Regions from separate parts of the Homo sapiens genome. Here region 2 is linked to region 1. Evidence: promoter capture Hi-C in 16 types of primary human blood cells and fetal thymus (Javierre and others, 2016). All regions are on one chromosome and are shown on one strand. The core of a region is centred on a gene start or on the middle of the fragment in contact, and the rest is flanking DNA. Distances in the headings are between cores, read along the strand shown. Region 1 holds the start of HNRNPR (heterogeneous nuclear ribonucleoprotein R). Region 2 holds the start of CNR2 (cannabinoid receptor 2).

Evidence for each region. The method cuts DNA at HindIII sites, captures the fragments that hold promoters and counts their contacts. A CHiCAGO score of 5 or more calls a contact.
Region 2: a fragment that was not itself captured here is called in contact with the fragment with the promoter of HNRNPR in region 1 in 1 of 17 cell types (neutrophils); the score reaches 6.2 in neutrophils.

Annotation. Positions count from the first base shown.
Region 1 is chr1:23,339,827-23,346,448 of GRCh38, forward strand. It overlaps HNRNPR (heterogeneous nuclear ribonucleoprotein R), which reads right to left and starts at 4,458. Exons shown (of 11, transcript NM_005826.5): 1 at 4,385-4,458; 2 at 1,026-1,191. The coding sequence starts at 1,182. RefSeq lists silencers at 3,931-4,000, 4,011-4,370, 4,881-5,000 and an enhancer at 4,391-4,975. The HindIII fragment of the contact is 3,804 bases long and covers 2,659-6,462 here.
Region 2 is chr1:23,908,265-23,915,463 of GRCh38, forward strand. CNR2 (cannabinoid receptor 2) reads right to left here and starts at 5,098. Exons shown (of 2, transcript NM_001841.3): 1 at 4,982-5,098. RefSeq lists a silencer at 1,947-1,996 and enhancers at 3,967-4,136, 4,910-5,424. The HindIII fragment of the contact is 3,555 bases long and covers 2,013-5,567 here.

The DNA of each region.
Region 1 (6,622 bases), core at 3,208-5,707:
GCCCAAACCATCAGCCTCTTATCAATAACAAAACACTCTACAAGAGAGCATCTCTAAGCAGATCACTGCCAATTCTCTATGGCAGAATGTCACAGAAAGTTCCTGAGGACTGATTTTCAAATGCGACCATGACCCAGGAGTCATTTTTATAAGTCATTTTAATGTCTAAAATTATGCTAAGCTTCCCAGATTTAAAAATTTTTTAAGGACAAAAAAAAAAAAACAGCTATTTGCTACTACTGTACTTAAGACACATTTGTGAGTGAGACAATTCAATTCTCTCTCAGAATCTGAATAGGCACACACAACACAGAGGAAGAAAGTTTCCATCTATGTCCCCAAAGGAGGAGGACACATTCATTTATGAACAACGCTCCCTAAGGGTAAATATTTCTCTCCCTCTTTAAAACTTCAAACCACTTACAACCAACTATATTAAGATGTTCAAATTTGCTTAAGCACTTAACCATGGCACTTCTGGATTAAAAAAAAAAAAAAGAAGCAGCTGTTACAACCAAACACTTCCAAATTACGGAGAGATGTGGATTTCTATTAGAAACTAGACAAGCCACAAACTCTCAAGGAGTCTGACATTTATTATGGTTTCAGACGATACAGCTATCCTCTTGTTATGCCACCTAATCAGACCTAAGCTGATTTAACAATCACTTTAAGAAGGTAAAAGTAGAAAAGCAAAAGCAAAATGATGACTGATTTTGATTAAGAAAAAAATGTAAAATTTGGTATGCAGAAACATACATTTTTATGGGTGGTAAATCTAAGACAAATCGATGTGCTGTTCTGAAACAACTAAGACTGCATATTCAACACTAAGAAGGCTTCAAAATAATGAAATAAGAGTATCAAAGTCAAACCCAATATGCCTTCAATGAAGGGAAAGTAACAAACATTCAGCTCTACAGATCAGAAACAATAAGTATTATTTAACCTTAAAAAACTATAAAATTCAAAGTGGTTTGCCCTCACTTTCATAACCAGTCAGAAACAAGAAATGCATATTATACCTGTCTGAAATATTTCATCAAGTCTTTCTGCCACCTTCTGTGGGAGGCCTGCCTCTATCAGTGTCTTGTAGTGTTCTGTGTGAGTTACACTGGAAGTATCCATTGGTTCTTCCTCTTCTTTTAACTGTACCGCATTACCATTCACCTGATTAGCCATTTTATTATGCTGCTGGAAAAAATTCAGGAGCTATATTACATTAAGCCAGAAATAACTAGTTTGTAGGACAATGCATGATTTATCTAAACTAATTTGTATACATGCTGCTAATAACCTCTATCAAAATAATAATTTATTCCTCCTGTGATGTATCTGACCTAAATTGGCAATAATAATCCTGTAAAACCATAGAAAATGTACATGGAAGCATTAGATCTTTAAGGAACTTCATGTACACCGGGTAAGATAAAGGCTTTAATTTACTGAAGGTAGAATTGCTGATTAACAAAAGCAGCTGTTCTGTCCTGGTGAAAAGATCAAAATCACTACAAAATCCTTTACTAAAAAGCCCCTCAGCTCTCGGGTCTTACACAGTTTTAAAAAGTTTTGTTTTAAAAACAGAATGAACACCCACAGACCACTTAATCAAGATTTAAGGACTTTCAAATTTTCCTGGCTCTGCTTCAAATACAGTATCGGTGTGAAATAAGTGCCCTGTTTTCTCTAGTTCAACATGCTGGTGGTTTGGGTTTTCTCCACCTAACAATACAAAACGAAAACAAAAAAAAACCAACTTGACATTAATTTTTGTTCTAAGATTAATTCGCTATTCCCACAGATTTAAAAGAAAAAATGACCAAGTTTAAAAGCGAAACAATTGTTTTCAGTCCAAATAAAATACTAAGTGAGCTATAGTTTAGGTTGCTTCTTAAAAAAAAAGAGTACATGTTGAAATTTTCATATCAGTAAAATAAAGATGTAAAAACATACTGAAGAATGGACAACTTCTTCCAAATATTTCAAAAACCGTTACCTAATTAGGCTAAACTTCAGCCAGATTTCTCAGATTAACCTATCAAAAATAATTTTGTACATTCAGCCTGTAGGTAATGCTGAAATGGACTGACTCCCTGAAGAGAGAGAGTAAACAATAAACCATACAAGGCCAGTCTGTGTACTGCCTCAAAAGACAGGGAATTAAAGTGCATTTGTCTGTGGTGAAATTACAATGTGATGAAGATAATAGGCAGCAGAACAAGACATTGCAACACATACTAAATAAAAGACATAAAGGTGGATCTCAAGAAAAAGCCTACTTTTCTTGATGAAACTCAAGATACCTAGTCATCTATAAAGAAAATACAAGTCTCCTACAAAGTACTAAGACACATAAGATAACCACACTTCCCGACAGCTTATCGAACATTGTGCAAATGCACCAGGTGCAGTTTTCTGGCTTAAAACAACTTCTTTTCATTTCAAAGTCCACTGATACTTAGTTGAAGTTAACGAAAGAGGGAGGAAGACCAAGAGGGGAAGGAGGTAATAGAGAGTAGGAAGAAGAAGAAAATGCAAAGGATTACTCTGAAAATGAGATAAACATGACTCCTCACAATTACAAAACACTATTAAGACTCGATAGCCCTTAATAGACGCAGACTGTGGTTAAATTCTGGGTGGATGTTTCTCAAGACAAGCTTCAAATTCTGATGAACTAGCAAAAACGGAAACATTCGAAATGTCACACTTTTGATCAAGAAACTGTATTGTGTGAGATGAATACGTTTACTGATTAACACGACCTATTTCTATAAAGATGCATCCTAAAACACAAAATCTCCTTGCGAACATAAGGTTCTGTTTTCCCATGCTCCCCCATCCCCACATACTACCTTAAGATCATCAGAACTCAAAAGTTCTCAGTATCACAAGACCCTTACAGCATTGTACCTAGGAATACTATCAGTCACAGAAAAGAGGCAAATTTTTAACAGAAAAGTTCAATGAACATCTGTTAAGGTGGGGTTTTTAAGTATGTGTAAAGCAAAAAGACAAGTTGTGTATTAAGTACAAGACAGAAATATTTATGCCTACCATTTCATTGCAAAGGCTCTACAAGTTGATACTGAAATTGGTTAAAATTTTCAAAAAAAGTTTGTAAATTTTAACAAAAAAACCGTAAAATAATTAGATTCCAGAAAATAAAACCTTCGGATCAAGGAAAGCCCTCTCTCTTCAAGCCAAATACAAAATGCTCATTTTGAAAAGACTTTTTATGTCATATGAGACCATTTGAAACTCATTCAAATGTGGCATTCAACACAATGCCACACAGCCAAACCATATTTCTGGATGCAGCAAATATACTAACGTGACTGGAGTCATTTGATCTAAACATTTTTGCAAAAAAAAAGGAGACATTTAAAGATTTAAAAGGGCTGCTGGGAGATTCGGGATGTCAGCACTAACTCCTCCCTGACTTTTTCTGAACCTCTCTGTGCAAATTCTTCATATTAAGAGACGGGCTTTAAAAGAACCAACGAAATGAGACTAACGGTTATCTCATGGCTTAGGAGTGTCGAGCTCTCATCCTACGACTGACTCATGAGACATCAATTCAGCCACTTGAGGACTGCAAAAATCTCAAACAGGTAGTGTGAAAGGACTGAACCTTCCAAGAAGCCCTGGGCTTTTTTAAAAATTTGGCAATACGGCCACTACCGTGTAAGAAAAAGGATCGCCTTTCCAATTTGGTGCGCCTCTGACAGTCTCAGAATTATCCATTTCAGGCGCCGCTTGGAGCCTAAGTTCTACGGCCTCTAGTAGTCATTTTTTCCTTCAAATCTCAGCCCGCGGCATGCAGAATGTGGGAGGGGAGGGAGGCTTCCCACACAAATCGGCCTTTCGGTTTCTGCTCACACAAAACTTTTCTCCCGGCTCAGATAACCCTGGGATCTGCACCCCGCCTTCCGCCCCCCACCCCCATCCCCTCAGGCCCGTCCGGATCATCAGCACATCCCTCTCGGGCTAGGCCGGCCGCGGCGGGAGCGAAGCGGCTCCGGCGGGGAGAAGCGGCAGGGCCGCGGGCGCCTCAGGCCCTTCGCGGGATCCGGCCGCATGGAGCAGCGAGCGGAGGCGGGAAAAGCACGGCCGGCCCCAGCAGGCCGCGCGGAGAGCGCCCAGCGGGCCGGACCGCGGGCTAAAGGGGCGGGGGGAGGAAGAGCGAGGGCGAGAAGCGTTTCGGCCGGGCTAGGCCCACAGCCGCGCGGGCGGACTAGACCGAAGCCGCCCCCAGCCCGTCCCCACCCCCACCCCGGGGCCTCGGAGCGCAAACGAAACGGGACCAGGCACGGAGCCCGGGCTGAGTCGGGTCGCATCGGGGCTCCCGGCCCCTCCCCCCACGGGCCGGCGCGAGACTCACCAGGGCAGAGCGGGGGCCGGCAGCCGGGCCCGTGAGAATCAGCGCGAGGCGCTTTGAAAACGACTAGAAATGGCGCGCGCGCCACCCCCTCCCCCCCCTGATGGACTGAGACGCGATCCCGGCAGCACGCGGGGTTTCCCGGAACTGCTTCCAGGGACTCCGAGCTACGGGGCAATCGCTTGGCGAGGCGGCCTGACAGGCAGCTCAGACGACCAGTAGTATCCAGGCAAAACGGACCACGCCGGACGACTCGAGAGCCAATCGATGAAGCTGCCGGCTGAACCAATGAGGGTGCTCAGCGCCCCTGGCTGGGGCGCCTCCGGGGCGGGGGCAGGCACACAAAGGGGTCTGTGGTGGAAGCCCTTGGTGGCTGCAAGGCTTGGGGGCGCTGGGTCCTGGGTGGACGAAGCTCCTCCCTCTTCGTCTGCCGCCGATGCGAGGCCGAAAATCTAGGCCTCGCGCCGCGTGGCCGCCTCCGGAGCCCCGCCCCCTATGGTCAGCACTGGCCCAGCTCCGCCATGGCGCTTGCGTCCCGCCACCGGCCGCCCTTAGCCCCCGAGTCCTCCCTCGCACCCCCGCGGCCGGCGTTCCCCCCAGACACGCCCATAGCCACGCGTTCGGGCCTCTTTCGGTCATCTTTTCGCCTCTAGTGAGCACACGATTTAAGGATGATTTGGCTCGTCATTTTGCTGAGGATTTTGTCTAGATAATCATTCCTTGGAACGATCGGAGAAATGCCTCTTTCCCTCCCTGGCTGCCGTCCACACATCGTTGGTGGCAGACTGTGAGGGAAATCGTTAAAATGACTCAAAAGCAATGTGTAACACAAGTGATAGAGCAGGGAGCTTTTCCCCACAGGGTTTGGAGCTACTTGATATTCATAAAATAAAGCAGCTATATACATCTCTGAAGCCAAAAGAGCCATGCAGGGGAAAGGGGTAATTCCCAAAGGACACTATAATTCGTGTTAGTCCTAAACCTATTTCTCACCTGCCATTCCTACTGATTTGTTCCCTGTCCTTAGTCCAAACCTGTCTCGTCTCATAGAAACCTTCCGAACTCACTTCTGTGGTGCAAGCGCTTTTTTCCCAACCCCAAACTCCAATGCCCCACCCTTAGGAAGTGGAGGAAGTCAAGCAGTGGTCTGCAGATTTCCAGATGCACTCAAGGATGATTAAATTTCTCAGAACCTACAAACCTATATTTAATTATTGAAAACGGGCGGGGCGTGGTAGCTCATGCCTGTAATCCCAGCACTTTGGGAGGCCGAGGCGGGTGTATCGGTCAGAAGTTCGAGACCAGCCTGATCAACATGGTGAAACCCTGCCTCTACTAAAAATACAAAAATTAGCCCGGTGTGGTGGCACGTGCCTGTAAACCCACCTACTCCGGAGGCTGAGGCAGAAAAATCGCTTGAACCCGGGAGGCGGAGGTTGCAGTGAGCCAATATCGCACCACTGCACTCCACCCTAGGGAACAACAGCGAAACTCCGTCTTAAAAAAAAAAAAAAAGAAAAAGAAATATTGAAAACGACTACTATGTGCCCAGTACCAAGTTAAATCTCTGGGTAGATCCAAGTTTTGTGTTATGGGGTGTGAGATTTACAGAAATGCTGGGAGTCTTAGGCCGGGCGCGGTGGCTCACGCCTGTAATTCCAGCACTTAGGGAGGCCGAAGTGGACGATCACTTGAGCACAGGAGTTCGAGACCAGCCTGGCCAACATAGTGAAACCCCGTCTCTACTAAAAATACACAAATTAGCCGAGCGTGGTGGCGCGTGCATGTAATTCCAGCTACTTGAGAGGCTGAGGCAGGAGTATCGCTTGAACCCGGGAGGCGGAGGTTGCAGTAGCCGGGATTGCGCCATTGCACTCCAACCTGGGCGACAAGAGTGAAACTCCTTCTAGAAAGAAAGAGAGAAAGACAGAGAGAGAGAAGAAAAGGAAAGAAAAGGAAAAGAAAGGAAGAAGGAAAGAAAGAAATGTTGGGAGTCTTTAAGAAAAATCATATTAAATGACGAATACAAATTTAGGAACAGAGTCTTGGAAGGGCATTGTAAAAGTGAGGGAGGACCCCGAAGCTTAACTTTTTTTTTTTAATAGAGACACGGGAGGTGCGGAGGGAATCTCGCTATGTTGCCCAGGCCGGTCTTGGCCGGTCTTGAATTCCTGGCCTCAAATGATCCTTCTGCTTCGGCCTCCCAAAGTGCTGAGATTACAGGCGCCCAGCCTGAAGCTT
Region 2 (7,199 bases), core at 2,540-5,039, 570 kb after region 1:
CACCGTGCCTGGCCAACTATCGCTTTTTAAATATTTATTTTATTTTTGAGATAGGGATCTTGCTCTGTCACCCAGGCTAGAGTGCAGTAGCACAATCTCGGCTCACTGCAGCCTTGAATTCCTGGGCTCAAGCGATGCCTGGCTATACCTGCCAGATTTGATTCTTCCACTTATCCTAGGAAGATCTCACATTGAGAAAAAATCTTTTAACTATTACAATAATTATTCACTAATTTTTAAAAAAATGGAAACAGGCATCAAGACCTTCTAATGATGTGAACCTTCTGGAACATCTCCCTCCCTAGTGGGAAAAGCTGGTAGAAAGTAGTGGGAAGACAGACTTGGGTTTGACTCCTGTCTCTGCCTGTTGTGTCTCAGCCTTAGTGGCTTCATCTGTCAAATGGGCCCATTGGAAGGGAGGGAGGGCTACAGAAGGTCAGTGAAGCACCCTCTGGCTCCTTCCTTGCTCTCAGTGGGCTCTATTCCCCAGCTTCCAGCTCCATCAGATTTTCCAGGACCCAAACAGACCCAGGGAGAGACACAGAGGACGAACTCAATGAATTTGGGCTGAGGCAACACTGTGAACGCAGCTGTGGCTCTCAAAGAGGAACTTAGGGGTTGCCTCAACCTCTAGGGAGGCAAGGGAGCCTCTGAGAGACAGGTGGGGTGGTGGGGGTGAGGGAGTGGGAAAAGCTGCCTTTGACTCACTGTATGAGCAGGAGATCAGAGACCTCCTCTCTGGGCAGTGGAAGCAGGTGGGGGAGGGGAGGAGAAGCCGTGAAGCTCACCGGACACCGAACCACGAAGTCCCCTCTGCTCATGGGCTCACCCACATCCTCCCCGACTGGATGGGGCCCCAGCAGCCTTCACTCCCTCGCCTGCTGGGGAATCCTTCCCTCCCTGCTTGGCCCTAACTCCACTATGCAGTTCCTCCCCCATTAATCTGGCCTTGTCTGTCATTTTCTCTCCTTGGCATTTGAGGTCTTTGCTGCATGGCGTGAGGACTGAGTACATCCTTTCTCTCCCCAGGAGATGGAGGGAAAAGAGAACAGTTTTACACTGTTCTGGGTTCTGCTGGAAGAAGGCTGAGACCTGATCTTACTCTTCTGGTGGTCCCTGCAGCATAGCTGGGGACCGAGAGCCTTGGCTGTGCGTGGGTTCCCACTCTGCCCTCTCCCGAGACTTCAGTGTCCTCATTTATAGCTTGGGGAGAGAAAGAGAATTGCCTTTACAGGACCGAGGTGAGGATTACATAAGATAATGCCTAAGCACAGTCAGGGAAGGTCTGTCAGAGATCATCATGGAAACAGGAAGTCACCTGGGCCAAGGGCTAGAGCCTCAGGGTCTTGGCACAGAGTAGACACCTCACAAGACTGGATTGGACTGCTCAGTTTGGGGTGGGAGGAGAGAAGCCGGCCATATTCATATGATATCCCTCCAATTTCCTCCCCAGCGCAGGTTCTCGGGTTGTCCATGTGATGGCATCTGAAACGCAGCCTGGCGAGCGACACAGTAAAGACAACCCTGATCATGAGTCCCCGAGCCTGCCCTGCATCTCCATACCTAGAGGCATTTCCACTCCCGTTCTCCTATTTTGATTCCCACCACAATATGGCTTGGTTCTGGATCCAGATTGACCTGGACTTGAGTCTCAGCTTTGCCATTACCACCAGTTATGGGACTGTGGACAAGTCTCTCTCCTTCTTTTTTTTTTTTTTGAAACAGTATCTTGCTCAGTTACCCAGGCAATAATAGCTCACTGCAGCCTCAATCTCCCAGGCTTAAACAATCCTTCCACCTCAGCCCCCTGAGTAGCTGGGACCACAGGCATGTGCCACCATGCCTGGCTAATTTTTAATTTTTTTTTTTTTTTTTTTGTAGAGATAGGGTCTCACTATGTTTCCTAGACTGGTCTTGAAGTGCTGAGCTCAAGCTATCCTCCTGCCTGGGCCTCCCAAAGTGCCAAGCTTACAGGTATGAGCCACCATGCCCGGCCCCTTGGATAAGTCTTAAGCTTGTGTGAGCTTCAGTTTCTCACCTTGCAAATGTGGTTAGTGATAGCAGCCCCCTCCTAGGCTGTGGTGAGGACTTAATGAGGAACGGTCACAGAGCTCAAATGTGTAGTAAATGCTTCATCAATCTTCGCTTAAGAAAAAAACAAGAGCGGATCACCTGAGATCGGGAGCTCGAGACCAGCCTGGCCAACATGCAGAAACCCCATCCCTACTAAAAATACAAAATTAGCCGGGCGTGGTGGTGCATGCCTGTCATCCCAGCTACTTGGGAGGCTGAGGCAGGAGAATCGCTTGAACCCAGGAGGCAGAGGTTGCAATGAGCTGAGATTACGCCATTATACTCCAGCCTGGGCAACAAGAGCAAAACGCTGTCTCAAAAAAAAAAAAAAAAAAAAAAAAAGAAAGAAAAGAAAAGAAAACAAAACAAAAAAACAAAAAACAAAAAACAAGAGCCCCTTTGAGGCAGGTTGGGAATGCTATGATAGCGTCATTTTTAGAGTTGAAGAAACTGAGGTTCAGAAAGGTGATGTAACTTGCCCCAGGTTGCCTGAGTAATTGATGAGGGAGACTTGGGTTTCCATGTGATTCCATGTGATTGATAGCACAAGCTCTGAACCCACAGCGCAGGACTCTCTGCTCACACTGGCTCCGCTATTCCTTGGCTGTGTGACACTGAGCAAGTCAACACTGCTGCTGAGTCTTGGTTTTTCTCATCTGTAAGATAGGGCTGCCTGTCTCTTTTCAGAGTGCCCTTTGTGTCTCGTGGCTCGGGGACTTTTTTCAGGGGTGAGAGTAGGAAGCAGAAGCTATTTGAAGACAACCCTTCTTCCTGTCCTTTCCTGAGAACCTGAGCGCAGTGAGAAGGTTAGGTCACGTGGGTGGGGGGTGGGGAGAGAAGAGTGTCCATCTGCCATCCACAGCCAAGGGGAGAGGAGAGATTGTCCTTGGCTGGGAGGGGACCGAGGTCTTGGGCACCTAGAATTTGCTTTCTGGGAAGATGGCAGGACCTCTGGGGGAAGTCACTGGGTGATATATCCTGGATGTCAAAATGAGACACAGTGGTTTCAGGTCTTACAAAGAATCTGGACTCCAGGCATGCCAGGGAAGTGGGCAAGGCTGGACTTCAGACAATCAAGTCCATTTGGGCAATGGGCATCCATCGTAGGAGGACCCAGGAGCCTCCCTCACGCTTATGTTCTGTGTGTCCTCTGGGTCAATGTGCATGGGTGGGGATGGGAGTGAGGGAAGCTCAGTGCACTTGGAGATTAAATTTCCTCCTAGCCCAGTAGGATGAGGCTCAGGGTCCTATTGAATGTGACTTCAACTGAATAAAGAAAAGATCAATTTATGCACACCCGAGGGTGTGCAGTAAGAGTGACTGGTACTGTAAAATGAGGTGGGAAGAGAGGGGGCTGGCGCTGGAGGGCTCTGCTTGGCTGAGCCAGGCTGCCATTTTCCCGTCTTCACTGCCTTATCCTGGCCTTAGCCGGCCAAAGGGTAAAGGATATGCTTCACCTGCCCAGCGCAGGTTAGGGGGTCACTCTGGTAAGCCACAAGGTGGTTACAGAGCTGGGGCCAGGATTATTGGGACTCCACCTCCTGAGCTCTCCCTGAACTTCTCCCCAGCCTCCATCCTGGTTTTCATGCTGCCAACGTGTCTACTTGCCACTCATTCCAGGGAAAAGCAGCCAGGCCTCATTTTATCCTCATCTCAGATCCACAGCAAGAGCAGATGGGGTGAAGATCAAACTCTCCACCACAGCCATTCCCGAGCCCTGTGCTGCTGCCCGCCCTGTGCCCGCATCAGACAGTTGACTCGCAACAAGCCTGTGAGTGACCTTCTCAGGCCCATGTTTCTCAGAAGAGGAAGCTGAGCAGGAAAGAAATGGAGTGATTTGCATTAGGCCATCGAGCTACCAGTGGCAGAGCTGGGATTCAGACCTGGACGCTGACCCCAGGGCACACTGGAAAATACTGCTCTTCCCTCCGCTGAGTGGAACTTACACCAAAGCAGACCCCTGGCCTCCTGAGTCCAGTGTGCCCCTAACACTACCTTGTGGTCTCCCCATCTATAAAATGAGAGCGCAGGACTCACCTGGTCATCTCAAAGGCCTCTGCCAGCCCCTGTCATTTCCTGGCCCCCATCTACTGTTGCAGTCCACACCTCGTAAGGCAGGATAGCCTGGTGGCTGAAGGGTGGGCCGCGAAGCCGGAGTGCCTAGGCTCAAGCCAATGCTCTCATTCAATGCCCGCATGATTTCAGGTGGGTCACCTAGCCCCCACCTATCAAGTGGACAACAGTGATAGCTCCTACTGCATACGGCTGTTGTGAGGATTAAATAAATCCAACCACTAAAGGCTCTTAGGGCAGCGCCTGGCACACAGTAAGGCCATCTCTGTGTGTGTGATTCTTGTCTCTGTAATGAAATGAAAGCCAAAGTCCTGATTCTTGGTCCTAGGAGGGGGATGCCAGCCCTGAACTTTCCTGCGACTGGTCCTCCACAACCCCAGGTGTCCTGAAATGACATCTATCCCCTGCCCCAGACAGGCCCACCTGGCTTCTTGTGTCCCTGGAGGGAAGGGATAAGGTAAGAATACAGGTTTTGGCCAGGTGCAGTGGCTCATGCCTGTAATCCCAGCACTTTGGGAGGCCAAGGTGGGCAGATCACCTGAAGTCGGGAGTTCGAGACCAGCCTGGCCAACATGGTGAAACCCTGTCTCTACTAAAAATACAAAAATTAGCCAGACGCAGTAGTGCACACCTGTAATCCCAACTACACGGGAGGCTGAGGCAGGAGAATCGCTTGAACCTGTGAGGCTGCACTGAGCCGAGATTGTGCCACTGTACTTTAGCCTGGTCAACAGAGCAAAACTCCGTCTCAAAAACAAACAAACAAACAAAAAAGAATACAGGTGTTGGGGAATGAGGAAGAAGCCTAAAATAAACAACAAAAAAAGCTACTCACGGTTGTGTTGTGGGTGGCTGGGCACTGGGAGCTGCCGGGGGCTGAGGAGTCCCAGTTGTTTTCTGTCCTCTCCCAGGACCTGGCCGTGGGTGCCACTCAGAGCACCTGTTGAGTGCCACCCCAAGCCAGCTTTCTCTTGCTTTTGTACTTTCTCACAGATGAGTGAGTGTGAGGAGGTCTGGCCTTCCGTGCCTGTTACCACTTCCCCTCCAGGTCCCTGGTGCCACAATGCTCTTGCCCCTGCGGTTGAGTTATCTCTTACAACGAACTCTGGCCAGGGTGGGGCATGGGCCTAGACCCTGGAGTCAAGGGACTTGGGTTCTAATACAGCCTCGTTAAAATGTTGATTCACTTAACTTCCCCAAAGGCAAGTTTCTTTATCTGTAAAATGGGGATAATGCACCAACATTACAGTAGATCACCTAAAAGGACATGCCATTCCAATGCCTCTTCACCACTAGGCCAGAGCTTTGAAATGCAAATGCCTACAGGCAGATTAACATAATGGGTGATGGATCCTGGTGTGGGGCAATAGGGAGTGGTAGGGACTGTGGGTAATAGGGGGAACACAGGACCCAAGTGGAAAAGCTTGGCTGGAGCTGAGAGGTACCTGACCCTCTCTACTGGCCCAGCTGAGAGGTATCTGCCCCACACCCCAGACCCTGATCTGGGCCAGTAGAGAGGGGCAGGTACCTCTTAGTTCCAGCCAAGCTTTTCTGCTTGGGAGTATAGGCAAATTGTCAGATATTCCAAGCATTTGGAAGTTGTGCTGTATTTTTCAAGAGATACCAGAAATCTTGACTTATGTGATAGCTTCCTGTGTGTGTGTGTGTGTGTGTGTTTTGTTTTTTGTTTGTTTGTTTTTGTTTTGAGACCAAGTCTCGCTCTATTGCCCAGGCTGGAGTGCAATGGCGCAATCTCGGTTCACTGCAACCTCTGCCTCCTGGGTTCAAGCAACTCTCCTGCCTCAGCCTCCTGAGTAGCTGGGACTACAGGTGCACACAACCACCTCCAGCTAATTTGTAGTTTTAGTAGAGACAGGGTTTTGCCATGTTGACCATGCTGGTCTTGAACTCCTGACCTCAAGTGATCCACCCACCTTGGCCTCCTAAAGTGCTAGGATTACAGGGTGAGTCACCACGCCCAGCCACTTCCTGTTTATTTTATTTTACTTTATTTTATTTTATTTTAATTTTTTGAGGCAGGGTCTCGCTCTGTTGCCCAGGCTGGAGTACAGCGGCACGATCATAGTTCACTGCAGCCTCAAATTCCTGGGTTCCAGTGATCCTCCCATCTCAGCCTTCCAGGTAGCCGGCAGAACAGGCATGTGCCACCACACCTGGCTATTTTTTTTTTTTAATTTTTTTGTATAGATGGGGGTCTCACTATGTTGCCTAGCTTGGTTTTGAACTCCTGGGCTCAAGCAAATCCTCCCGCCTCAGTCTCCAAAAGTGTTGGGATTACAGGCATGAGCCACCATGCTCAGCCAGTTGCCAATTTTAGAATGTAAAGCCCAAAGTCACACCTTTAAAAAATGCTATGTGAGTCAAACTAAACATTATCTTCAGTTTATATTTATTAGGGAGTATGTCCCTAATGTCCAGTCCTGGGCTGGATGTACTCAGGTATGGTATCTGATATAGTTCCAAGTGTCCTCACACCCACTCTCAGATAAAATATTTAATGAGACGCCATTATATTCTAAGGATACAGAGATGATTATGGCAAAGTTTTTGCCCTTGTAAACTCATGGCCTATGATTATCTCATCAGATCCTCTCACTAACTGCTCCCCACACCCCAGACCCTGATCTGGGCCAATGAAGAAAGATTTTGCCCCTGAGGTAGAGTTGCAAGATTCTTCAAGTAAAAAATGTTACAGGCATGAGCCACCCCACCTGGCCCAATGAATTATATTCTTGAAGATGATGGAGAGTAGATTTTAAGTGTTCTCACCACAAAAATAAGTATGTGAGGTAATGCAACAATAGTTGAGACATTCAGGCACTAAAAATTACTTGTTGCTTATGTGCGATTAGAATGCTCAGCCTAGCGTGGTGGCTCACGCCTGTTATCCCAGCACTTTGGGAGGCAGAGGCAGATGGACTGCCTGAGATCAAGAGTTCAAGACCACCCTGGGCAACATGGTGAAACCTCATCTCTACTAAAATACAAAAAATTAGCTGGGTGTGGTGGTGCGTAGTTGTAGTCCCAGCTAC